3 separate regions of the Homo sapiens genome follow, and regions 1 and 2 are each linked to region 3. Evidence: promoter capture Hi-C in 16 types of primary human blood cells and fetal thymus (Javierre and others, 2016). All regions are on one chromosome and are shown on one strand. The core of a region is centred on a gene start or on the middle of the fragment in contact, and the rest is flanking DNA. Distances in the headings are between cores, read along the strand shown.

The links. The method cuts DNA at HindIII sites, captures the fragments that hold promoters and counts their contacts. A CHiCAGO score of 5 or more calls a contact.
Region 1: a contact is called between a fragment that was not itself captured here and the fragment with the promoter of SPATA6L in region 3, in 1 of 17 cell types (monocytes). The highest score is 5.6, in monocytes.
Region 2: a contact is called between a fragment that was not itself captured here and the fragment with the promoter of SPATA6L in region 3, in 1 of 17 cell types (fetal thymus). The highest score is 5.1, in fetal thymus.

The regions. Positions count from the first base shown.
Region 1 is chr9:5,828,017-5,832,778 of GRCh38, forward strand. ERMP1 (endoplasmic reticulum metallopeptidase 1) reads right to left here. Exons shown (of 15, transcript NM_024896.3): 1 at 4,674-4,762; 2 at 2,711-3,012. Among named protein-coding and RNA genes, the nearest start is that of ERMP1, 2.7 kb to the right of the region's middle. RefSeq lists a silencer at 4,668-4,762. The HindIII fragment of the contact is 813 bases long and covers 3,107-3,919 here.
Region 2 is chr9:6,012,075-6,016,876 of GRCh38, forward strand. RANBP6 (RAN binding protein 6) reads right to left here and starts at 3,550. Exons shown (of 1, transcript NM_012416.4): 1 at 1-3,550. The coding sequence starts at 3,533. The coding sequence ends at 216. RefSeq lists an enhancer at 3,369-3,428. The HindIII fragment of the contact is 2,610 bases long and covers 1,855-4,464 here.
Region 3 is chr9:4,665,230-4,669,670 of GRCh38, forward strand. SPATA6L (spermatogenesis associated 6 like) reads right to left here and starts at 1,251. Exons shown (of 12, transcript NM_001353486.2): 1 at 983-1,251. The coding sequence starts at 1,021. It overlaps PLPP6 (phospholipid phosphatase 6), which reads left to right. Exons shown (of 1, transcript NM_203453.5): 1 at 1-29. RefSeq lists silencers at 1,040-1,089, 1,100-1,179. The HindIII fragment of the contact is 11,868 bases long and covers 1,128-4,441 here.

The sequences.
Region 1 (4,762 bases), core at 2,263-4,762, 1.2 Mb after region 3:
TTCTAGGCCAGGCACAGTGGTTCCCACCTGTAATCCCAGCACTTTGGGAGGATGAGGTAGAATAATCACTTAAGGAGTTCAAGACCAGCCTGGGCAACAAAGTGAGAACCTGTCTCTATTATTTAAAACATAATAATAAAAAGTGGGTTCTAATGGCTCACAAAAATGCTGGCCTTTAATTATTAGACTCCACATATACAATCTGTAACATTTGGCACTATGTTTGTAAAGAGTAACTGAATATGCACTCCAAAATATGTCACTTTGACATACGGATTATTTTGAGCTGAAGGCAACTGAGAAGCAGGTACTATACAAAAAAGCTCTCTGCCCTCCCCTTGTTTGCCTAAAAGCAGGGTATACATTTACCAAGGTGTCCCCACTTCCCCTTTCCACCAGGAAGTACAAAGGTTGATCAAGAAAGACAACTTTAAACTTTTGGTGGCCTGGCAACAGCACAAAAGGAATCTATATAACACTTTACTAACTAACCTTTCTCTACCATTTATTTGCCTTCCTTCAATTTGCCACCCCTCGAGACTCAAGGTCCTTTTCCTTTGTCACTTCTCTAAAAATGTATTGTTTGGTTGAAGATGCTACATAAGCCAGATTTCTAAGCCACCTCTTTGAGATGTACTCATTTTCCTTGAGTATCTCCCATGTACATGAAGTGCATGTGTTAATAAACTTCTATTTGGTTTTTCTCTTTTTAACCTGTCTTTTGTTACAGGGGTCCACTCAGCTAAGAACTATGAAGGGTAGAGGGGAAACTTTTTTCTTTTGTCCCTACATTTGCTGCTAATTCTTGTATATACAGCCTTCTTATATAATGTTCTTAAGCAACCATGGTGTTTATTTGCCGCTTCCCAGAATTTAAGCATCATAATAGTGGGCAAAGAGTGACATTTATTACTGCTTTGAAATGGACATAAAAAAACCACTGGTGGCCGGGCACAGTGGCTCACACCTATAATCTCAGAAATTTGGGAGACTGAGGTAGGCGGATCACTTGAGGTCAGGAGTTCAAGACCAGCCTGGCCAACATGGTGAAACCCTGTCGCTGCCAAAAATACAAAAAAAATCAGCCGAGTGTGGTGGCACAGTAGGAGAATCGCTTAAACCCGGGAGGCAGAGGATGCAGTGAGCCAAGATTGTGCCACTGCATGCCAGCCTGGTGACAGAGTGAGACTTGGCCCCCCAGCCAAAAAAAAAAAAAAAAAAACACTAAACCACTGGTTACCCCAGCAGCACACGAAGGTACTTCTGGCTTATTTAACAAACGTGTGTATACTGATTTTTGAAAATGCAAGTTACATTCTAAACGCAATTGTCAAGCTTTCTAAATGAAGATATTCTAATATGAATCATTTTATCAAGCAAATAAATTTTACTTACATTTTGTATAACTCTAGACGTTCAAATTTGGCCTGCTATAAGTTCGAGTAATCCAGAAGTGTTAATATTACATAAGAGTTAATAAAAACTTTTAAAAATCACTTTCCATGCCAGGTACTATTTTAGCGTTTTACTTATTTTTAATCCTCCAAGCAACACTATTAGGAAAGTACTATTATTTTCTCCATTACACAGATGAGAAACTAAGAAGTTAAGCAATTTGCAAAAGGGAGTATTAATTACACCCTAATATTCTTTTTCCTTTCAAATGTAGCTGAAAGAACTGACTGGCCAGGAAATCCAGCATCTTATCCTAGTTTTGTCTCTGATCAGCGATGACCAGCTAGCTAAATGTACTCCTGTATCAAATGAGGGGTTCAGCCAGATGCCATCTCAGGTCTTGTCTACCACTAAAATGCTATGCCATTGTAAATGCTATTTTCCATCCCTATTTACAATCCCTTTAACCACTGAATACAATTTTCTGAAAAATAAATATTTTAATAAATGGAAGTTCAATTTAGGGGATTCCCATTCATTTGACAAATATATACTGCATCAGGCACTGTCCTAAATGCAAGTATTCTATTTTGCCAAATGATTTTCAGAGAAAGATTTACACATTAATTAGGTACTTTAACAGTATGGCACCCTCAGTGGAGCAAAATTCTCACTTTATAGGTCAACAGAATCTGCTAGAAGAGATATCCGCCAACCCGCAGCCCAGGACAGCTTTGAATGCAGCCCAATACAAATTTGTAAACTTTCTTAAAACATGAGTTTTTTTTTTTAAGCTCATCAGCCATCATTAGTGTATATTATGTGTGGCCCATGACAATTCTTCTTCTTCCAATGTGGCCCAGGGCAGCCAAAAGATTGGACACCCCTGCTCTAAAACCATGCAGTAACCCTTGAAGGCAGGGACTGTCCTTATGTGGTATCCCCAAAGCCTAGTATAACACCCAGCTGAGTAAAACACTTTCTAAGTGTCAGAACCTAACTCCAGGACACTAGGACACACACACTGTCTGGTAACATTGAGAAAGCTGCTTCAGTCTACCAGAAACATTCCAAGTCTTATCACTGGGCTGCTGGCATTAACACCAAAAAATAATATTAATAAAGCACTTAAGAGAAGACAGAATGGTTAGATCCTAAACTAAATGATACTATCCTAATTATCCTGCTTTCCATCACAAAGAAAAAAGGTTTGCCCAAGAAAATGGTCCCCACAATTGCCCAAGTAGCTTGGGGTTATGTTAATAAACTTTCTGGGCTGTGACAAGTTCCAAATGACTAAAAAACAGGTACATACCTGGTGAGTTTGCTACTGAGTCAAAATGACAATTAGCCAAGACAGCATGCTGGGCTCCATCTCTGGGTTCCAGCTTTACCACAACATTGGTGATGTTGTCATAATAGCTTGTAAAACCTCCCAAGAAATCAATGCTAAAAGAGCCTGTGGGCCGTTGTACATCTACTGAAATCTTATGAAGGCTGTTGCTTTGCACTTCAATCAGTTTAATCTGTTCCAAAAGGTAGTGCACGGTCAGAATTTCATTTTCTGGACTTCCTGTAGTCCTGGGGCCAATGGAGGTTATGTGTTCAAGATAATCCCTGGAAGTAACCAAAAGAATAACAAAGGTTTGTAGTTAAAATTGACACTTAGCGTGGGTAACTTTTCCACTACACACCCCTTCCTCCCCAAAAAAGCTTAGTTCTTTGCCTTATATAAAAGGGACCGCCTTTCATTATTTCAGACACCAAGTGAACATCACTTATAAAGTTCCATATTTTTATTGTTGCCTCCCACGAGTTGACCCCTTCAGTTTTCTCCACCATCCCACTCCCAACTTCTCCCCATATCAAACCAATACAAGGACTAGGGATGTATTCAAAACGTGTGACCACTGGCCAGGCACGGTGGCTCACGCCTGTAATCCCAGGACTTTCGGAGGCTGAGGTGGGTGGATTGCTTGAGCTCAGGAGTTTGAGACCAGCCTGGGCAACATGGTGAAACCCCATCTCTTCTAAAACTACAAAAACTAGCCAGATGTAGACTACTATCCGCCTGTAGTCCCAGCTACTCAAGAGGCTGAGGTGGGAGGACTGCTTGAACCTGGGAGGTGGAGGCTACAGACCCGAGATGGAGCCACTGCACTCCAGCCTGGGCGACAGAGCCAGGCCCTGTCTCAGAAAACAAACAAAAAAAGCTAAAGACTAAGCAGGATAGAATATAACTTCACTGTGCATACTCCTGAACGTTACAGATTCTGGGTTAATGACTTTAAGTAGCAGAAACCAATGAGCAAAAATAATCAAGTCAAGAGGTTAAATAAGGCGGGCGGGGGAAACTTTTGATGGACCTAGCCCTCCTAGCATACACCCAAGGTCTAATAACTTCAATTCAGGCCAAAACCAACTGTACCCCTAATGAAAACAAAACTGTTTTTGTCTTTTCACTGCATTCCAAGTGGGGAAAGCTGGAAGTGGGGGTGGGAGACGTTTCAGAAAGTCCTTAATAAGCTTGCAACACTTTGCATTCTAGCAAAAACTTTTTAGAACACAGTAGCTGTTGAAAACTTGACGCCAGCTTAACACTTCATGAGCTTTGACACACCTGGGTTACAATATCTTTGACTTAATCACCTTTCCTAGCATTCTTAAAGGTCTTAAAAAAAAAAAAAAAAGTCAAACCTTACACAGTCACTAATCCAAGGGGCCTAAAGATAAACTGCAGGGATCTGAGAATTTATCAGACTGCATACCAAATTTTGACTGGGCGGTGTTCCAGAAAGAGTTTCTATAGCCTTCAGATGTGGGGGCTGTAACCCTCAGAAAGTTAGAACAGTGCACTAGCGCCTTCCAAAACTCCCCGCCCCCAAAGCGAATTTATACAACAGTCTAGGTACACAAATTTCCATCTGGAAAGCAGAAGGGCTAAGCAAGGTAAAAAGGGGAAGCTGTTCCAGAATATGGGGAGACGACTCACAACCAACCATCTGCACGAAGGGCAGACAGTGGAAAGCAGGTTCAATCTACCTGGCAACCCCAATCTGCACCACGAGCTTAACCGGGGACAGGCAAGCCCCAAGTCCCGGCAATTCAGACCCCAGAAGAAGGACAAGCAAGGTCACCCCACCCCACGTGCAGCCTGGGAGGGGTCAGCGAGTCCCAGCGGTCCGGCAGGGGCGGGTGCACACAGGTGCGGTGCCCCGGAGCCTGCGCAGGAGCCGCAAACGGACGCGCGGGCCGTGCCAGGAGGGAGCGGCCGGTACCTGGCTTGGAGCGCGTCGAACTCCCCGCGGTGTCCAGCGGCCCCGCGTAGCACGAGCTGCTGCAGCGAGAGCTGCACCAGCGTCCGCAG
Region 2 (4,802 bases), core at 1,910-4,409, 1.3 Mb after region 3:
TGAAGCACAGGTTATCACCAAGGTCTGTGTTTGGAAGATAAAACATGCGAGATAAACAGAGGACTAACACTGATTAATTCTGGAGAAACATGGAGAAGAACTATAAACTGCTTAGCAGGGAGAAAACAGTTCTCTGATTTATAATAAAATCTATTCACAACACTTATTTGTAGTTACTTTTATAATAGATAATATTCAAGTTATATTAAAGTGCTTCAAGCAAAATTTAGCAACTCCTGTAAGGCTTCCTGCTGTTCATCATCAAGTTGTGATACACATTCCAACCATAAATCTTCAGAAGTCTGTACCTGACGCACGACATTAGCTAGGCGTTTGGCACAAGGATCCTCATAGTTAATAGTCTCATTAATTTTTCCTTCTGCAATTATACTGATTATTTTGGGAAGATTGGAATTATTTGGACCAATTACAACTGGGTGGTTACTTTCAATTAGGTCACAGAGAAAACTCAAAGTCTGAATAGCTTCCTCTTTATCTTCATGCAGTGGAAGCCATGATAACCAGTGTGGAAGAACTTCATCTACATTTACACAGTTAGGCTTAAACTTCAAAATCTTCCCTATTGCTGAGATACAGTTCTCTGTAGCAATGACATTTTTTTTGGTTTTGGAATTTGCACACTTAATAACTTTTACCAGAAGTGGAACAGCTTCTGAACATAAAGAACGATAATCATCTCCACCAAACTGTGCCATGACACCCAGGCCATAAGCAGCAGCTTGCCTGACTTCAGGGTTGTTATCTCGCATATTTAGTAGCATTGGCCACCGAAAATATTCTACATATTTAAATGAAGTTGGACTGCAGTGCTCTATGATGTCATCAAATATGCACAATCCCCACTGTCTGTCTGGCCATGGCCTACTTGAACAAATTAGATTTACAATTAATGGAAGTAGTTGTTCAAACCATGGTAAAATCTTTTCCTTATAAGTACTAAATAATGAGTGCAAAATATCTGATACTTTGGTCAGAATATAAACATCACATTCATCCTCATCTTGCAGAGACATCTCAACCTGTTGATCATAGTTTTCTTCCTGTCTTTTCACCTGTCTCAATTCTTGGTTTTTAAAGTGCCCTTCAAGTTTTGCTTTCAGTATTCCTCCCAGTTCTTCCAAGTGTTCATCATTAAGGCAACCATCTCCCATAACTTCAATGGACTTTGCAAAAGAATTCATTATTTCTGAGAGCACATCTGTATCTGGTTCAGTACCAATAGCCTTGATTAAGGGGTCACATATGAATTGCCACATCTGTGCAAGATACTCTGGGCCACGAATTCTTGCACATTCCAGGAGAAAAGGCATGGACTCTGCTGCTGCCACTCGAACATTGTCATGGAAATAAAATTTCAGTAAAGGAACCATCAGCTTCACAACTTGTTCTGTATATTCCACAAACCCTTCCCTTAACTCCTTAGCATAGTAAACCAACATTTGGCAAGCAGTTGCTTTTGCTTCAAGTCCTGAAGTTTTAATTCCAAAACTCTGCTGGTCTCCAAGATTTACAAATTGCCAGCCATCATCGTCACTCATATTTTCCACATCCTGTGTGTCTAAGAGAGCAACATCAGGTTTAGCTGAAGCAGTCTTAATAAGAGGCTCGATAACCAGTGGAAGGTACTGTTGAAAATCTTTTCCAAGAATTTTACACATTCTAGCCCATGCTGAAACCATGTAAGAGGTCTGAGGGTCATCATCTTCCATATTATTTAAGTCTGATTGTGTCTTCAACAACAGCTGCATCACATTTGATGCATCTTGCATAAATTTTTCCTTCCCAACAGCAAGACCAATATGGCTAATGCACTCGATAGTTTTTCCTCTCAGAAGCTTGAGTTCCTTCTGAACAGCAAGCTCAACAATGTGCTTTAGTGAGGGCATGAATATATCATAATATGGGACAAATTTTTCTTCTATTGTATCTGCAACTGATGCAATGGTTGTCACAAGTTGTTCCAAAGCCAACTTAGTTCCATTCCGAATCAACTCTTGAAGTTTAATCACCAAGACGGAATGTAGATTTTTCACCATACTATCCACATATAGAACTAGCAATGATTTAGGGCAGTCTTCAATAAAAATAATAAGAGCAGAAGCTGCATGTGATTGCACACGCTGATTACCTTGATTTTCCATGGTACGTAACAGAGCTGCAATCACTGTTTCATGAAATTTCTTTTGGAAATTAGGTGCAAAATCTGTAGCCATCTGTCCAAGTGTAGTACAGGCTGCAGCCCTCACCCTTGGATGAGGATCCTGAAGAAAAAGCAAAACGGAGTTAACTGTTTCATCTAGAATTGATTCCATTTGTTGATGGCATCCTTCTCCAATGGCAGATAAGGCCATTAATCCAGCATGTCGATACTTCCAGTCAGGGCTCTGAAGCATCTGCATGATATGCTCCTTGGTCATTGGTAAAACAACTTTTCCACCAAGCCCACAAGCCAGTCTGTCTAGTGCACTCTCCGCAGCAACTGCATTGCTGTCAAAATCATCTTCTTCCATTTCATCAGCATTTACCCAGTCCTCATCATCTTGTAGATCAACCATCATTGCTAATATATGAGGAACTGCCTGTGCAATAATATTTGTATGTTTTTTCAACATCGGAGTGGCAGTTTCAGACAAGGTCACTATAACTTCGAGGGCCAGCTGGCGCTGCAGATTACTAAGCCTAGAGTCTCCACATAACTTCAAACTCAACTGTAGAGTATCTTCTAAATAAGGACCCAAGTACTTAGGTACGGTATCTGCAATCTCAACAAGGGATTCTAGCACTGAATCATCATCCTGGTAGCATGAGTCATTCACAGCCTGTAAGATTCCAGGAAGCAAGTCTGCAAAGTCTTTGAAAAGAGCAATATTATTCTCATTAGCAAGTACAAATGCAGCTGCAGCTCTAGCGGATAATGTCCTGATTGCTGGATGTTCTTGATCTTGAATACACTGGTCCAACAACCGTTTGATGATATCCAAATCATGCCGCTCTTGGGTCCCAAAAATCCCAGGAAAGTGCCAGAAAACGTGAAGTGCAACTTCCCATAGAACCACATTTTTGGAGTAGATTGAATCAATAAGAAACTTCAGACCTTCCGGCCAGTGGTTAGTGCCATCCTCATCTATCAAATTCCTGGCCAGCACTGCAAAAATATCACAAAGTTTTTTCCTCATGCTAGCATGTGTTTCTAACTTAACAGCCAGAATCAGTTCAATCTTGACATCTCTCTGAACATCAGCAGGCAGATTTGGATAAACCTCCTCAAACCCAGAGGACAAAAGCCGTCGTAGCAGTGCGGCAGCCATTTGTCTCACCTCATAACCTGCTCTTCTATTTCTGACGGCATCTAAGAGGAAGGTAGTCTTACACAGACCTGGGATATTTTCATAGATTTCCTCTGCTTGCCTCCGCACCATACAGCTTGGATTGATCAGGTTCTTCAGAAGCTGGTAAAACTCTTGCTTTTCTGACACGGTCGCCGGCACCCCTGCAGACGCGGTTGCCGCCATTGCGCTCTGTCAAAGCTACCGCGACCGGGAAGGAGGGAGGGGGTCTGCGGCTCGAAGCAGTGACGTAGGCGAGGCGCCGGCGGGGATGGGCGGGGTGCTTCTCCCTCCTCTGCCCAGAAACTCTAGCTGCGCTCTGGCAGGCTGCGAGCTAGGTTTTGGAGAGAGGTGAGAGCCGTGTGGAGGCCAATGGCATCCTCCATTTGTTTTTCAATAAGATAAACGTGCACTTGCAGGCGAGAGAAGAAAAGCATTGATTAGAATGGGATCATGACTTTTTTTTTTTTTGGATACAAGGTCTGGCTGTGTCACCTAGGCTGGAGTATAGCGGCGCGATCCCTGCTCACTGCAGCCTCAACCTCCTGGGCTCAAGCGATCCTCCCCGCCTCAGTTCCCCCAGTAGCTGGGACCACAGGCGCGCGCCACCACGCCCGGCTAATTGTGTTTTTTATAGAGACAGGGTTTCGCCATGTTGCCCAGGCTGGTCTCGAACTCCTGGGCTCAGGTGATCTGCCCGCCTCGGCCTCCCGAAGTACTGGGAATACAGGTGTGAGCCACTGCTTCTGGTCAGATTATGAGTGATTTTTTTCTTTTATTTCTAAACTATATTGTTACTTTGATAATTTTAAAACAATAAGTCTATCTTGAAAACATGCCAAGTGAAAGAAACCAGTCACAACCACATATTGTATGATTCCATTTGTATGAAAGGTACCAAACAGGCAAATTGTATAACAGAAATTAGTGGTTGCCAGAGGTTGGGGGGAGGGGAGGATAGAGAATGACTGCTATCAAATAGGGTGTTTCTTTCTGAGTGATGAAATGTTCTAAAATTAATTGTGATGGTTGCACAATTCTGTGATTATACTAAAAACCATTGAGTTGTTAAATTTAAATTGGTGAATTGTATGGCATATAAATAATACTACAATAAAGCTTTATAAAATAATAAGTGTGATAATAAAATAATAATTACTTCCCCACTACCACATCTAATGCAGTAGAGTGGTAGCTCAAAATCTGGTGTGTGTCAGAATCACCTGGCCTGTTGGTTATAATAAAGAATGGGAAAGACAACTGAGTAAAGTATGGTAGAAAGTGATCTGAACTAATAATCAGAAGACAGACTTGCATCCTGGCCTTGTCACTAAATTAATTTTGTATCCTAGGACAAGTTACTCAAGATTTTCCTTGCATCTTGTCTAAACTGAAATATGAAGGGATGCGGTTAACTAGAATCCTAACTAACCATTAGTGGGAAGCTGCTGAGGT
Region 3 (4,441 bases), core at 1-2,500:
TCAAAATAAAATTAACAAATAATGGTGAATGAAGTGAGATGAAAACTTGCTTAATTTTTGCCTTGATGAGGAGGGAGACAGATTTATCACTTAGCTTCTCAAGAGTTCCTTCTTCCTGCACAATTTTTAGAGCTTAAAACTGGTATAGCACTACTAATAAGGTCTAGCCCTATTTGCTGTCAGCAAAGTGGGACAAATCCAGGAAATGTTGATCACCTTTCACACCCACATGTATGATGAAACCACACCATTTGCCAATTGTATGGAAGACAACCAGATTCCATGACAATTTCCTGTTAGCACTGTGCTTGTAATCATAGCCAGTAGAAAAGCCCCTAGAGGAAAAGCGGCATGATATTCTGTTACTAACTACATGGAAGGATTGGAAAATGGAAACTGAAATAAGAGGGAGTGACAGACCCCCAAGTAGAAACCATGGAGTCACTCTGCCACAGCACTTCACTTAGGAAGGATTTGGTAATTACGAAATAGTGATTGATTGATTTCCCTTTTGGAATTAGCAAGCCAGAGCTATCACTAAGGGGAAATATCATAGAAAATATCTGATTGGTTCATAGAGTTGGCAAATAATCAGGAAGTGATGGAGCTTTTTAAAATTATTCCCTGGTTATTTAAAGAAGTTGAAAATCCTTTCACAAATCTTTATCCAGGAGAAGAAAATAAATTCTACCTGGACTTAATGCAGGGTTGTTTGAAAAGAAATTAAAAATTCATGATAAAGATAAGAAACATGTTAGCTTTAGAACAGAAAAAAAAAAAAGTGGGAACAGGTGGAGCTGAATTAAAGGTTAGGAAGTCAGGGAAAACCAATATGGAGAAAAAGACAAAGGTGCGATCTGTCCCAGAAGATAATGATGTGTTTGTGGTAAGTGGGGGATGTGGGGGAGGGTTGTTGAAAACCACCTGAGACTATTTAGAGTCCGACTTGAGGTTAAGGAGGGGGAGTTCATCGATCTCTTACCGCCCGGATCTGCAGCTCCACCACCACCTCCAGAGGCATCGTTCCCTGCGTGGGCGAAAGGACTGGAATGAGAAGATCCTTTTGTGCCGAGCCTTGGACCAATTTTTCTTAGTTTAGCTGAATACCTAGAGCAAATGTTCCCAGAAGCTTCCCCAGTCCCACGCCCTTGTTCCCCTACCGTCCCCCCCAGCCCAGGTCCCTCCCACCGGGACGGGTCTCTCACACTCGAAGCTGGAGTGCAGGCTTCCAGAAGGCGGAAGCGTGGCGTTGCCAGGGACACTCAAACGCGCAGTCTTCATCGTGGAACGCGCGCGAGGCCCCAGCGCAGACGCGCGCCCTCACGGTCGCTGTTGCCCACGCAGTGCCCCCAGCCGGAGAGACTGGCCCTGTCTGGCGTGCTAGACGGATAGAGAAATGCTAACAATCCCGATCTTCTTTCCATCAGCTCCTGCTATCCCCAATTACCATGTCAGAATGTTTACCGTTTTCATTCTGAAAGTAGAATGAGATCATAGGTCTGTTATAATTTAAATAGTACACGTTTAGTAGCTGCACGACCCCAAGCCTTGTAGTTTCTGTAACAATTCTCATTTAATATAGTTGCCTGTTCCTAAAAATACTCTTTTGCTTATTAAATGTTATGTTTGCTTCGGAAAACATGGCCACCGTCAATAACAAACGTGTGCTAATTAGAAATATAAGGTTAATTCTTAAACATATTTAAAAGTTAGGTATCCCCTGTTAGCAGCAATAGAAATATGTCAGTCTTTCCATAACGGTGTCCAGCCTTTTCTGGGGTTTAGTTTAAGGCAAGCATTGAGTAGTCCAATGGGTAGTTATTGCATTTGCCAAAACCACAGTTACTGTAAACACTGTCAGAGGTGGTGCGCAGAGCAAGAGTTCTGAATGAGTAGGGGACATTCACTACATCTAATAGAGAAAAATGAAGGAAAGGAGCAGGTAGTGGCTCCTTCTAGCAATCCAAAAAATCTAGGAAGGCCAATGCTGCCTCTGAAAAAAAAATTTTAAATCCTAAATTATGTTCAGTCATTTATTACTAATATTTTGCATTAGAGAGTTATACAATTGGAAATAGTGCAGAAGGATGGTCAAGACAAGATTGGGTATTCATTTTGGTAACTGGAGTTTATTTCCCTGGAAGGGAAAAACTTGGTATGATGAAGAAGGGCATATTGTATCCTTATCCAGTTCCTAGTGCTGTGTCTCTCTGCATATCAAGAGATACAGGTGGGCACCTAACTATCTATAGTGTCCAGATCATTGATTTGTCACTCACAACTTGCTGACACCCAGAGTGATGTGGGACAGGACCTGTGATGATCCTAACAGGTAGGTCACCAACACCAATGCTAAGAAATCAAGGAGAGTGACAAGCAAAACAAATTAATAAATAGCCAGAGTTGTATTGGGAGAGAAGAATCAGTCTTTACTGAGGATCTGCAAAGTGCTAGGCACATTGCGTATGCTAATTCATCTCAACCCTACAATAACTCTATCAGGGAGATATTATCCCTATTTTACAGATGCAGAATCTGAAGCTAGACAGCCTTTTACTAAAAGCCACAGACCTAATAAGGGAGCAGCCACATTTGAATCCAGGTGTGCCCTACCACATCACTGGGTCTGCAATATAGACATCCTGTTGATCTCTAGAGACACAATGTTCCATTCTATGCTCTTCTTAGTCTTAACTCTTGATCTAACTGGACTCTCCTTGCTTGGCTGCTAGGGCACAGCTCTCTTCTGGTTTCCCTCCAACTTTCTGGCTATTCTTTCTTTGTCTGTTTATCCTCCTCTGGCTAAGCAATGTTTCTAGGTCCTTTCCTTTCCTCACTCTATACCCTTTACTTAGAGTGTCATCCATTGCAGACATTGATTAACACATGTATACAGATTTACATACCCCACCAAGACCTCTCTTCTGCTGACAAGGTGGAATCTCAATATCATATCTTATGTCATACATATAAATATATATATCTCCTCTTTGTAGCGACTGCCATAATAGCAGTTTTACATTTGTTCCTGTGACTCTTGATTACTATTTGTCTCCTTAATCTGTAAACTCTGCATGGCTAAGCGTTTATACCCTAAATAGGATAGAAGATAATAAATATTTTTGAATATTAAATGCAGAGATGGTCAAGCCAATCTGTGGGGGTTAATGTACATGGATAAAGAGAGGTCCCATCACAATGGGTAAAAGAAATCTGCAGAATTAGAAAGGACCAGGCACAGCTACTTCTGCAAATCTGCTATGGTGATATTAAATGAGTTGATGGGGATACTTCACACTCTCCTAATTGTCCCCGCCATGGTTACCTGAGGCTCTCAGCTGCTGTGGAGATGTGGCAGTTGCTATACACACCCAGTCCCTCTCACTCATCTTGCAAAGTTATTTATCATTGAGGCTGTCCACCTCTGCCGGGGGCCAACAAAGCCTTTTAAGGATTGGACTGTCACCACTTCAAGAGAAAGCCTTTATTACCTGGGTAGGTACCTCTTGGTGGCAGCAAACAGATTTCAATGAACAACTGCTATTTCCAGAGAGTATCTGCAGTGCAGCTTGGCCAGCAGTGACATCAGCATTGCAGAAATGATACAGCAGCACATCCCGTTCACATCCTGGCCCCAGACAAGAAAATGAAACATGCCCCAAATGGGGATTTTCCAAAGAGTAAATTAACAAAGAACAAGAATATGACAGATAATTATGGCTGAGATTTTTTTTTAACTAAAAAAATTAATTATAAGACAAAAATCATAAATATTTCAAATAATAAGTGTATTCATATGAAAGGAAGAAACTATTAAAGAGACAGCACTAGTGGGAAGGGTATGGGAAAACACATTGATGGGAGTGTAAATACATACAATGTATTCATTTCCTATGGCTGCTTAACAAATTTAGGGGCTTAAAGCAAGACAAATTTATTATTTAATTTTGTGAGAAGTCCAACACAGATCTCAATGGGCTAAAATCAAGGTGCCTGCAGGGCTGCATTCCTTGCCTTTCTGTTTCCTTGCTTTTCTGGAGGTTGCTCGTATTCCTTGGCTTAAAGTTTCCTTCTTTCATGTTCAAAACTGGCTACATAGAGCCAAGTCCTTCTCATGCTGCCATCTCTCTGGTTCTCCCTTTTTTTTTTTTTTTTTTTTTTTTTTTGAGACAGAGTCTCGCTCTGTCACCCAGACTGGAGTGCAGTGGTGCGATCTCAGCTCACTGCAACCTCCGCCTCCCAGGTTTAAGCCATTCTTCTGCCTCAGCCTCCCGAGTAGCTGGGAGTACAGGCACGCACCACCATGCCCAGCTAATTTTTGTATTTTTAGTAGAGACAGGGTTTCATCATATTGGCCAGGCTGGTCCTGAACTCCCGTTCTTGAGTAATACACCTGCCTCGGCCTCCCAAAGTGCTGGGATTACAGGCATGAGCCACCATG